4 separate regions of the Homo sapiens genome follow, and regions 1, 3 and 4 are each linked to region 2. Evidence: promoter capture Hi-C in 16 types of primary human blood cells and fetal thymus (Javierre and others, 2016). All regions are on one chromosome and are shown on one strand. The core of a region is centred on a gene start or on the middle of the fragment in contact, and the rest is flanking DNA. Distances in the headings are between cores, read along the strand shown.

Evidence for each region. The method cuts DNA at HindIII sites, captures the fragments that hold promoters and counts their contacts. A CHiCAGO score of 5 or more calls a contact.
Region 1: a fragment that was not itself captured here is called in contact with the fragment with the promoter of KCTD9 in region 2 in 10 of 17 cell types (naive CD8 T cells, non-activated CD4 T cells, activated CD4 T cells and 7 more); the score reaches 22.8 in naive CD8 T cells.
Region 3: a contact is called between a fragment that was not itself captured here and the fragment with the promoter of KCTD9 in region 2, in 6 of 17 cell types (naive CD8 T cells, naive B cells, naive CD4 T cells and 3 more). The highest score is 10.4, in naive CD8 T cells.
Region 4: a fragment that was not itself captured here is called in contact with the fragment with the promoter of KCTD9 in region 2 in 1 of 17 cell types (fetal thymus); the score reaches 5.2 in fetal thymus.

The regions. Positions count from the first base shown.
Region 1 is chr8:26,580,464-26,583,504 of GRCh38, reverse strand. It overlaps DPYSL2 (dihydropyrimidinase like 2), which reads right to left. Exons shown (of 14, transcript NM_001197293.3): 2 at 1,448-1,536. Among named protein-coding and RNA genes, the nearest start is that of DPYSL2, 68 kb to the right of the region's middle. The HindIII fragment of the contact is 3,760 bases long and covers 1-3,041 here.
Region 2 is chr8:25,456,888-25,459,703 of GRCh38, reverse strand. It overlaps KCTD9 (potassium channel tetramerization domain containing 9), which reads left to right and starts at 1,271. Exons shown (of 12, transcript NM_017634.4): 1 at 1,271-1,505. The coding sequence starts at 1,458. CDCA2 (cell division cycle associated 2) reads right to left here and starts at 471. Exons shown (of 15, transcript NM_152562.4): 1 at 231-471. RefSeq lists enhancers at 573-802, 2,173-2,222 and silencers at 943-1,152, 1,513-1,562. The HindIII fragment of the contact is 4,823 bases long and covers 1-2,816 here.
Region 3 is chr8:26,562,749-26,565,649 of GRCh38, reverse strand. All of the region lies in intron 1 of DPYSL2 (dihydropyrimidinase like 2), which reads right to left. Among named protein-coding and RNA genes, the nearest start is that of DPYSL2, 50 kb to the right of the region's middle. The HindIII fragment of the contact is 297 bases long and covers 1,454-1,750 here.
Region 4 is chr8:26,597,046-26,599,745 of GRCh38, reverse strand. The region is part of intron 3 of DPYSL2 (dihydropyrimidinase like 2); the gene reads right to left. Among named protein-coding and RNA genes, the nearest start is that of DPYSL2, 84 kb to the right of the region's middle. The HindIII fragment of the contact is 514 bases long and covers 1,052-1,565 here.

The DNA of each region.
Region 1 (3,041 bases), core at 146-2,645, 1.1 Mb before region 2:
AACTGTCATTAAACTTTCTTTACAGCACTTGCAATTGAGCTAATTATCCTATAGCAATTTTCTCCAGACCTGGCCGTACTTTCCAAACATTTATTTTTATCATATCCTTTTCACCAGAAGGAAAATAGGGGTGGAAGGGTGAGGTAGAACAAATCAAAGCAAAAAAAAAAAAAAAGTGAACACTATGATTGCAATGATTTAAAATTTTGGAAGCGTGTGTTTAGTTATTCAGATAATGAAAAAGCTAACAGCTGAAATATAATTTTAAAAGGCAGAAAAATGAATATTCATTATGTTGGGAGACATGATTCATTTCCAACTTTTAAAAAATATTTTTATATCTTTCTACCAATTTTTTAAAAGGAATATTAATCTAGGAGAAGTTGATAAAGTTCTAGAACAAATCAGTGATGAGTAAAAACAGCACACAGGCCTGCACACTTCTGGGCCAGTGTCATTCTACCAGACCAGATCGTGCCATCTTATAATTGGGGGAAAATGGAACATCAAAGTCATGGCATTTGAGAGCCTGGAGCTGAGACTGTCACAGCAAACACACATGGAGAAAACATTAAACGTGGAAATGTTAAAATCTATTTTAGGTTCATAAATCTGGGTGTGAGCTCCCAGGCAACAGTCACAGCCACTCCAGTTTTCCACTCCTCTGGACCGGTTTACAGCTATCCCTTGATGAATGCTGCTTATTTAAAAGCTGTCACTGGCTGCAGTGTTTGTCTTCAAACAGATGTGCTATTTCTCCAGAGCCCCGGGAGCTACCCCAGTAGAAAGGGCAGGCAGATACTGGGATGAACTCAGCTTCCTTAACCCTCTGGCGTCCAAAAATACCCAAACTCAGGAACTGCCCTGTTGCTTCTCCTTTGTAACATTAACACAATAAACACAAGGGCAGTCTTATTTGCACTAGTTGCCACTTAGAATAAAACCTAAAATTCCCTCAGGATTTAGGCAGTAATTTGTCTGTATTACTTAGTAATTAACTTGGTATCTTTCTTTGGCCCCTCCAACTTGGATTCTTGATGAAGAAAGCAGATGTGCTGTCTCAATAGAGGAGACTGTCTTTCACGTTTGCGTCCTTTGGGCAATCCAACCCAAACAATGACATTCTAGGCAAAACTTTAATATATTCAACATATCACAAACCAAGTATTTGAGCTGGCAACAGAAAGATATCATATCACCTCAGTTAAAAATAGTAAATTACATAATACCTAATGCAACGGGTGTACATTAATTGTTGCTTTGAATTCCCTAAATTTGAGTTTTCAAATTCACTAATTACCACCAATCAAAACCAGTTTAAAACAGATACTAAGTTGGTCACTCTCTGATGTTCCTGAAGTTTGATACTTTGGATGCGAATGGTATCTAATACTTGGGAAGTCTGGAAAGTGTTCAAATACATCTGTATATCATGAGTTACACTTACTTGATCAACCCATCTTCCATGTATATGTCTGCATAGAACGACTGGTCATCATTAACAATTTTACCTCCTTTGATCAGAAGACGATCGCTCTGAAACAAAGAGGCAGTAAGGTCACAACGCGTAACTGACCTATGAGAAACAGGTGCTAAGATATGTGAGCTAAGGATACATTTTCACTGTTCAAAAGTGATGTTCAAAATAAGCCCATTTTGGAAAGGTTCAGTGACAAAGGTAAGCCTGTATGTGGCAACCTATTCATCACCTGATGAGTCAGAACACACAGGGACAGCTTATCCTAGATAAACGAACCATCTCTTTCAATTAGACCTTGGACTCCAAAGAAAAAAAAAAAGCAGTGAAAATTATTTCATATAAAGAAGATAGGGCCGGGCACGGTGGCTCATGCCTGTAATCCCAGCACTTTGGGAGGCCAAGATGGGCGGATCACCTGAGGTCAGGAGTTTGAGACCAGCCTGGCCAACATGGTGAAACCCCATCTCTATAAAAAATACAAAAAATGGGCTGGGCATGGTGGTGGGCGCCTGTAATCCCAGCTACTCGGGAGGCTGAGGCAGGAGAATTGCTTGAAGCAGCAGGCGGAGGTTGTAGTGAACCGAGATCACGTCACTGCACCCCAGCCTGGGTTACACAGCAAGACTCCAACTCAAAAAAAAAAAAAGAAGATAGTACTTTTTAAAATGGCTTTTGGCTAAACCTCAATTTAAAAACAAACAAACAACAACAAAAAAAACCACCTACATATAGGAAAGCCATGTCTTGGAAAGACTGTGTCAAGCAAGCACAATTGACCAAAAAGTCTGCTGTCACGGGATATACCACACAAATACACTGGGTTCAACCATAGCAAGGTTTCCATTCAATATGTCCTTTATATTTGCATTTATCTTTGAGGTAAATCACAGCAAGTATAGCAAAAAGACTACAAAAAATACGCCATTGATGCCATTTTAACTAGGCTGTTAAGAAAAAGGTAAACTCCCACGAATAAGTATCTGAGATAGCAAATTCTAAGATGCAATGCACTACAGATTGCTGATGCACTTATATTTTAACCGGTGATATTTATGCTAAAAAATAAAGGACAAGCAGCAGATAAAGTCTGAGAATGTGACAGAAATGCTACATTATGACTCATCGTTATTGCAAATGCTGCTGATGGAAGGAATGCTGGCATCGAGTGTTCAGTAAATATGCACCTGTATTATACAGAATGGGCTTAAACCTGGCAAGCTGAACCATACATTGCCCTTTTAATATGCAACACATTTCAAAGAATGACATTCTTTTGGCAATAGTTAACTCAAAATTCAGTTACAAAACAATATTCTCAGCAAGTGCTACCTCTCTTTAGCAGCTACCAAGAAAAGGAAATCATAGAAAATCTTTAAAAAAGAGATAAGCTACTAGAGAGCAAGGAAAAAAGATAATTTTACACATAAATACACACACCTTGGTTCAGAAAGTATTTATTGTCTCTCTAACATACTGAAAACCAATAAGATCATTTTAATTTTGTACACTGCAGGGTCCCTGATCCTCACGTAGACTTTGGAAAGTCAAAGGAGAATAGCCA
Region 2 (2,816 bases), core at 22-2,521:
GATAAGCCATGGCTTTTCAACCGTAGCGAAAACCTGAATCATAAGGGTACCCCTCTCAAGACGCAGCTCTATCCATTTCCAGAAATTCTCTCAACAGGTCCGGATGCACTCCTGGTCACCCAGAGCAGCTCCTGACAGGAGTACTAATTCTGTGCTGCAGGGTAAGCCGAACAAAGTGCCTAGAAATGCCCCGGAGAAACAGCCCCGTGGCAGCGCGGATGCAATCCTACCTCTCACGCCGCACCTGAAGGCCCGCCAGGCAGACAGGCTTACTCCCAGAGCCCCGTGGCAGGCGAGCGTCGCGTCGGCCGCTCCTTCCAGACCCCGGCTCCTCTGTCCGGAAGGGCTCTCCTGGCAAAGCACCCGCAGCCGGGAGCCGCTCTTCGAACCCGGAGCCCGAGGTCCCGACGGCTGACCTGGACTCACAGCCTGCGCTGATCCTGGCCTGCGCTCTGCCCGGCAGCCTCCTCCACCCGCCTCCTCCGCCCGCCGACCGATTCAAATCCCCGACCCCGCCCCTCGGTACCGAATTTACTCTACGAATCACTCCGCCACCTCCCCCTTCTCCAGTCCGCGCACACTCCGAGCGCTCCCAGGCCTCTCCCTCGGCACTGGAGTGGCTTCCTGGGCTCGGAGAGGGACCACCGCGAGCTGCAGTCAACCCGAGGACTACAGACACCTGCCACTGCCTTGTGACCTCGGGGACTACTTTTCAGGAGAGTCTCGCGGAGTAACGCTTCTCTTAGCGCTTTAACTCCGCCTCCCACCTTTCTATTGGATGCTGCAAACTTCGAAAAGACTCATTCAACCAATCCTAACAGAGCGACGAGCTGGCTCTTACCCAATCAGTCCGTCCCTACCGCAGCCGTTTCCTAGCTGGGCCGGCTTGTGGGCGGGGCTAACGCTGGAGGAGGGGCTGACTGGTGCTTGGGTCCCTTTCAGCGCTCCACCTCCTTTCCCCAGACCCCGCCCTCGTATGCAGATAAGCGCTACCTAAACTAGAGGGTGCGCCTGCTCAGTAACGCTGGAAGCCGCCGTCCGGCTCCAGGAGCCTCTCTGATTGGCTGATGCCCCTTCCCGTCTACTAGCCTTCAGCGTCTCTTCCCTCCCTCCGTCCCGGCTAGGTTAGCCAGAGCCCGCCCGATACTGGGTGCTGATTGGCTGGACTCTGTCCGGTGACGCGGGTTGGTTGGTACGGCAGAGTGTCAGTCTCGGAGAGGTGGGGGAAGGGCCCCAGGCAGGCTGAGGAGCCTAGGGGCGGGGTGGGAAGGAGGACCGGCCGAACCTTGGGTGTGGGACAGAGTGCGTGCGTGTGGTGTGTCCCCAAGGGCAGGAAGGTGGCGAAGGGAGGCGAATCCGAGTGGGTGGAGGGAGGGGAAGGGCGGGAGGAGAAAAAGGTGGGAGGAGGACCAGGTGGGAGGGTGGCGGCTCACTCAGGACCCAGCGGGGGCAGCGCGATGAGGCGGGTGACCCTGTTCCTGAACGGCAGCCCCAAGAACGGAAAGGTAACGGGGGCGTGAGGGGGCGCGGCGGGCCGGGGGTCGGGGCGAGGGCGGACGGTGCGGAACCGGCTGGCGGGGCAGCGGTGAAGTTGGGTAGAGGGGCTGGGAGGTGGGCGTGCGCGGGCTGGGGGCGCTCGGGGACAGCACAGGGTCCCCGCGGCCTCCTCCCGACCCTCAGGACCCCCGTGCCCGAGCCTGCCCTTCAGTGCCTCAGCTGCCTGGGGGCCGGCGCGGTTCGGCCCGGGGGCTCCGGGTCTCCCGGATGCTTGGTGCGGGGGGCGCGGGGACGGGGGCGCGGGGAGGGCCGCGGTCACCTGGGCGCCCGGGCGGTCGCGCCTCTTCCCGCCTCTCCCCGAGACCCCGCTCCCGCCTGCGGGAGGAGGCGCGCCGGCTCCGGTGCTGAGTAATGATCTGCTCGGAAAGTGGCGGCGAGCACCAGAGCCTGTGGAGATGGGTCAGGGAGACAGAAGTAAACTGCCCGTGGATAAACAAAATCTCCCATCCGAGGTCGCAGACAGGATTTTTAAAATGGGGGCATTTTCTTGTTGATTTTTGCCCTCCTCTCTGAGATGCCTCAAGCCCCCACGCCCCGCCGCCGCCAAACTTCTCTGTACTCTTTTTATTATTTTGCCTTATTTTGATTCCCTAGAGGACGGGTACAGCAGACCCAAAAGGGATCGATTTGACAGTCGCCTTTGCTGTGTTAGGCCTTTGCGGAGAGTGTGGTGCTCAGTGTTCTTCCAGCGCTGGAGCAAGCCAAAACGAATTCTCTTCCTTCCCAGCCTTTTGCCCCACCCATGAAAGTTGTTCTGCTCCTTTGGGAAATTTTCACTGTTCGAGGCAGACATTTATTGCGTTGCTAAATGATACCTAGAAGTAACTCAGCCTTTACGAGTCTAAGGTAAAGGTAAATGGGTCTCGCTGTGTTGGTTGCCAAAATACTCTGCTGCCTGCACATTCGGGGAACACTGTAAATTTTTAAATAGTGAAATTGTCCAGTGGCATTAAAAATGGCTTTCCGATTATTCAGTGTAGAGTAAACATGCTCCGAAAATTCGAACCAGAGTGTGGTTTGTTGGCTATAATTTTATGTTCTTTTGGTCTTAGAGATTTAATACTCATTTAAAATCAGAATTCGTATAAATTCGAGTTCTTGAGTTATCATGAATGCTACCCCGAAAATATGTTCACGAAGTTTACATTTCTCATCACTATTAACTTTTTCTAAACCTGTTCTGTACTTAGCTACTACCTGTTATCTAAAACGTATGTTGTTACTCTAAGAAAGATTTAGTATGTTCAAAATTGGTAATA
Region 3 (2,901 bases), core at 353-2,852, 1.1 Mb before region 2:
ATTCTTTCTACCACAACTCCTAACTTAATCCTGTTTGAATTTAAAATTTGTGTGAAATACACACATACCCTCAGTTCCTTCACTTTGCTGACCCATGACCTTGGCCTGCCCTTATCTTTAGCCATTCACTCCAAGGGCTATCTGAGCCCTCATCCCCTAACCACATCATCAAGATGTGATGAGTCAACCTCTTCATTCACAGCTGGGCCCCCATGGTCCATTTCCTGGACTACTCTCACCAGCAGCATCATTCTGCTACTCTTACCCTGCAACCTCCCAATCCTGGGGCAGCCCTAAAATTCACTATTCCCTAACCACTTCTGTGGGAGCAGCCACAGAACACTCATACTGCATTAAAGATTGGGACAAAAAGAAGTCATGATATCAAAAAGACACCTGCACTCCTATGTTTATTGCAGCACAAGTCACAGTTGCACAAATATGGAACCAGCCTAAGTGCCCACTGACCAATGAGTGGATGAAGAAAATGTGGTACATATACACCTTGGAATACTACTCAGCCATAAAACAGAATGATAAAGAATGATATAATATCTTTTGCAGTAATTCGGGTGGAGCTGGAAGCCATTATTCTAAGTGAAGTAACACAAGAGTGGAAAACTAAACACTGTATGTTCTCACTTATAAGAGGGAGCTAAGCTATGAATACACAAAGGCATACAGAGTGATATAATGGACTTTGGAGACTCAGAAGAAGGAGGGTGGGAATGGGGCTAGGCATAAAAAAAAACTACACATTAGGTACAATGTACACTCCTTGGGTGATGGGTGCACTAAAATCTCAGACTTCACCACTATACAATTCATCTATGTAACCAAAAACCACTTGTATCCCAAAAGCTATTGAAATTTTTTAAAAAAAAAATTCTTTTAAAAAGAAACTGGGACAGATCACTCCAGAAGAGCTTCCCCTGAAGACTTCCCACTGGTCCTTGATCTGGCCACCCTCTCACACCTCTCAGCAGCTGTCACCACCTTTGCCATGCTTCCTGGGTCATCCTCAATCGTGTTCTCATGAGCTCAGTCTGGCTGGAGAGCCCAGTGCTGAATGAGGAATCACAAATGGAATAAGGATTTGTAGCAGAGCATCACACACACCCCTCTTTTCTCCTTCCCTAGGTCTCACAGGAAGACGTCAGCCCATTCAAGGATTATTCCCAAATCCATGCTGTTTCCCACCCCGGCCTGCTCCCAAATCTCAAAGTCTTCCTCTCCACCTCTCAGTCCCTTGAGCTTGGAAAACTCCTCCAGCCGTTCCCATCTCCCTGGCCCTGTGCTCCTCACCACGATTGCCCTGCCTTGCTGTTCCTACATGGTTAAGCTTCAGGAATGGGTAGCGTACACTCCTGGCCTCCACTTCCTCAACTTCCACTCCCATTTGCTTCTCAACCCACTACAGTTGGCCTCTTCGCCTGACTCCATTAGAAAAGCTTGGGCAAACAGCATGCTAATTGGAAGCTAATGCGCACTTTGTGATCTTTATTTTAACTGAGCTCATTGTGATACTTAACATTATTGCCTCTACCTTTTTTCTTCCAAATTCCCCTCCCTCGCTTCTGTGATGCCTTTTTTTCTGGCTCTTTTCACGCTTTTATGACTCTTCTTTCTAAACATTCATTGAGTTCCTCTTACCCAGTCTTAAATATCAATGATCCCTTAGGTTGTCTCCTAAGCCTCTTTCTCTGTCATGGTTTCAACAACTAACTAAACGTTTCTAACTTCCAAAGCTTTATTCCTGACTCTTTCCACACTTCATTCATTCATTCATTCATTCATTCACTCATCCAGCAAGGTTACATTAAGTGCCTTCTATGTGCCAAGGGATATGATAGTAAAAAAACCTACAACACCTCTGCCCTCATGGAAGTTACCTTCTACAAGGGGGTAGCCATTTAATTAATGGGGAAAGAAACAAATACAAAGGATAACTTCAGATTGCAGTCAGTGCCATCAAGGAAATAAGCAGAGGATAGAGAGGTGGAAAGGCACTTTAGACAGAGTGGTCTAGGAAGGTCTAGGAAGGGGAGCTGACATTTAGGTAGAGATTTAGTCCCAAGAGCAAAAATCTGACTTTGCCTCTGGAGGGAAAATTCTGGACTTAGCCTCAGGCAGCAGAGTTCTAGACTTAGCCTCTGGAGGAAGTAGCAGAACGTGGTGTCTGGGAGCTAAGTTCAGGACTTCATGTCTGGAAAAAGATATTGGGGCTTCAATTCAATTTTTGCAGCAAAGTTTCTGACTCAATGTGTTAATTAAAAGGGAAGACTTAGTCTTTGGACAAAGATGAGAAGGAGGAAGCCATCTGGGAGAAGAGAGTTTATGTAAGAGAAAACAAAAACATGGGAAGACTGAGATTAGGATGAGGTGGAATGTTTTGGGAACAGAAAGGAGTCTAGTGTGACTGGAGAACTGTGAGCAAGAGAGAGTGATAGACATGAGCGTGGCCCTTTAAAAACAGTGCCACAAATTCTTTGGCATCCTCCTAATGAAAGGTGGGGTCTACATGCCCTCCCTTTGAATTCGGGTGGGCTTCTGGCTGCTTTAACAAGTAGAGTATGACAGAAGAGATGCCTTCCAAGGACAGGTCACAGAAAGCATGGTCTGAGTTCAGACACAGGTGTGGGAAATCCAGCTACCCTAACGCCACCATGCTGTAAAGAAGCTGAAGCCATGTAGAGACCAATATAGGAATTCCAGCAGAGTCCCCCCAAGCCCAGCCTTCCTGCCATGGTGCCAAGGTGACAGACGTATGAGTGAGAAAGATTCTGGAGGACTCCACCCCGGTTGTTCAAGTCACCCAAAGCCATTCAAGTTTTCCCAGATACGGCCCTAGACATCGTGGAGCAGAGACAACATATCCCTGCTCTACTGTGTTCAAATCCC
Region 4 (2,700 bases), core at 59-2,558, 1.1 Mb before region 2:
ATTTTTTATTTTTATTTATTTATTTTTTTGAGACAGGGTCTTGCTCTATTACCCATGCTGGAGTGCAGTAGTAGAATCAAAAATTTTTAGAGTCAGTATACTCATGTAAGCTAACATAAATGAGAAAGAGAGAGAGCGAGAGAAAGAAAGGAAAGGAGGAAGTGGGAAGGGGAAAAGAGGGGAGAGGAGTGGAGGGAGGGGAGGGGAGGGGAGGGAGATACTCTTACTCAGAAATTTTCTTTCTTTGAAAATCCCTTATGACATTTCTAAGAAGAAGCAAGAATAGTGTGACCTTTGCAAATTACCTTAAAGACAAAGAGGAGAAGAAAGAGCCAAGCTAATACATGAAGAGGGAAAACAACCAGAAAAAATGACATTTCAGACACAATCATGGACAGAAATCCTACAAGTCAGTAGGGGCCACCTTTACCTGCCAGGGGGACCACAAAAATAGGGGATTTCTGTCAAGAAGGCAGGAATGTTCAGCAGAACACAGCTTCTGAATCATCTGACTCTCTCAGAACCAAGACAAAACAGTTCAAATGCCTACAAGCCACAGGACCCAGGAAATACCGCAGAGTGGACACTTTCCCCCTCTACATAAAAGAACCTATTTCTTTTCTATGCATCAGCTTCTCCAGTCCATCTTTCATTAAAAGGACTTGCCATGGAATGAAAACTCATATTTCAGGACTAAGATGGACAACAGGCCTTCTCCAGCTCTTCTCTGAAAAGTGAGCTTTTCGGTAGAGAACGAGCTTCCTTCACAAGAAGGGCACTCCCGCTGGGTGTGAGCCAAACGCACATGCACGACACTTGCGCAGCTAAGAATACGCACAGTGGGGAAAAGGCACAGAAGCAGCCCCCGTCCTGCCCGAGTGCCACATCCCTTTCTGGGCTTTCATTCCCCCACCCCCACCGCCTGCAAAATGAAAGAAAGATTGCAATAAACAAGGTGTAAGTCTCAAACCTGCTCTTCACCTGGAGCTTGTAATCAGGTGTCAGGCTCCCATCCACCCACAAGGAACAGAGAGATTTTGGTGTTGAAGCTTCAACCTGCCCTGCGAGCCAATCTTTATTTCAAAGTACTTTGTGCTGTAAGCTAACGGGAAAAAATGATCAAATGCCTCAAATCTCCCGTAAGCAGGGACTGTGCCTGGGGGGAAAGGTGCTCACCAAGGTGGGGGCACATCGGGTGTCTCCTGGTGCTTTCTGCTGGCACTAACATTCTAAAACATGAAGCATTAAGTACAGCAACATGGATCTTCCTTTTTTAACATGGAAAATACGTTTTCATAGAGCAGGAGGGAAAAGAACTCTCTAAAAAACAGAGCTGAATAGGCTTAGCAAGAAAAGAAATTCAGGAGATGGAGAGGAGGAGCTCTAAAACATCCACAAAAAAATAAACCATTTCATAGCAATGCTGACCATTTTAATTGATTCTCGACGACAGAAGAACACAAGAAAAGGTAGATGATGTAATGCGATGGCTGCTGAAGGCAAAAGTCACAAAACAAATTTAGCCCTTCGAATACCACAGTAGCCACGGGTCAATATAAAAAGCTTCAACGGTCAGGAGCAAAACTGGGGTGAAGGGGCTACTCCCCCATACATGTAATTTGTCCAAGCCCTGCCATAGCCACCACCTCCCTGGATCCTCAAAGCAACCCTATTATGCAAGACATGCTGATCCAGGTGCATCTGACGATTCAGAAAACCAGGACCAAGCCGTGGGGCACCGAGCCTGAGCTAATAAGCAGCAGAGTCGACCCTGGCACGAAGGTCTCCCAGCTCCATGAAGATGCATCATCAAGAAGGTTGGGCCTCAAATTCTTTCCATTACACTTCATGTTTCTCCCTGGATTATCTCCATAAAGGAGAAAAACAATACCCAGAACACAATTCCAACTCTGAGAAATTGTCTGATCTTCCTCCTTGTCTCTGCCCCTCAAAAAAAAAAAAAAAAAAAAGAGGCCAGGTGCGGTGGCTCTTGCCTGTAATCCCAGCACTTTGGGAGGCCGAGGCGGGTGGATCACAAGGTCAGGAGATCGAGACCATCCTGGCTAAAACAGTGAAACCCCATCTCTACTAAAAATACAAAATATTAGTTGGGCGTGGTGGCGGGCGCCTGTAGTCCCAGCTACTTGGGAGGCTGAGGCAGGAGAATGGCGTGAACCTGGGAGGCGGAGCTTGCAGTGAGCTGAGATCAAGCCACTGCATTCCAGCCTAGGCAACGGAGGGAGACTCTGTATCCAAAAAAAAAGAAAAGAAAAGAAAAATGCCATCTGCCCGTGGTGTTTCCCAAGCAGACATGGGAGGTGCTGAGCCTAATGAACCTCATAAAAGCCCACGCCAAAGCGATTCAGAGAAATGCAAAAGATGAGTGCCAGGCAAGGGCAAGGCAACCTCGGAGCAGCCTACGTGACAGAAATCAGCTCAATCTGGCCCCGCATGGAAGAAGGCTCCCGGGCCTCCCAGAAGAAGGATTAAGTTCAGTTGATGAATGCATGGCATCAGTTACTCCTCTTGATTGCTCTCCAAATCCCCCTCTGGGATGCAAGGGGAGATCTAGGGCATCAACCCAGGGCTTCTGTAGGAGAGAAGAGACACCCAATATACCACCGTCTTGGTGAGCATCTTCCATGCTGGGTGCAGCCTCCCACTTAGTAGGAGACGTATGATATCTGATCATTTTCTGCC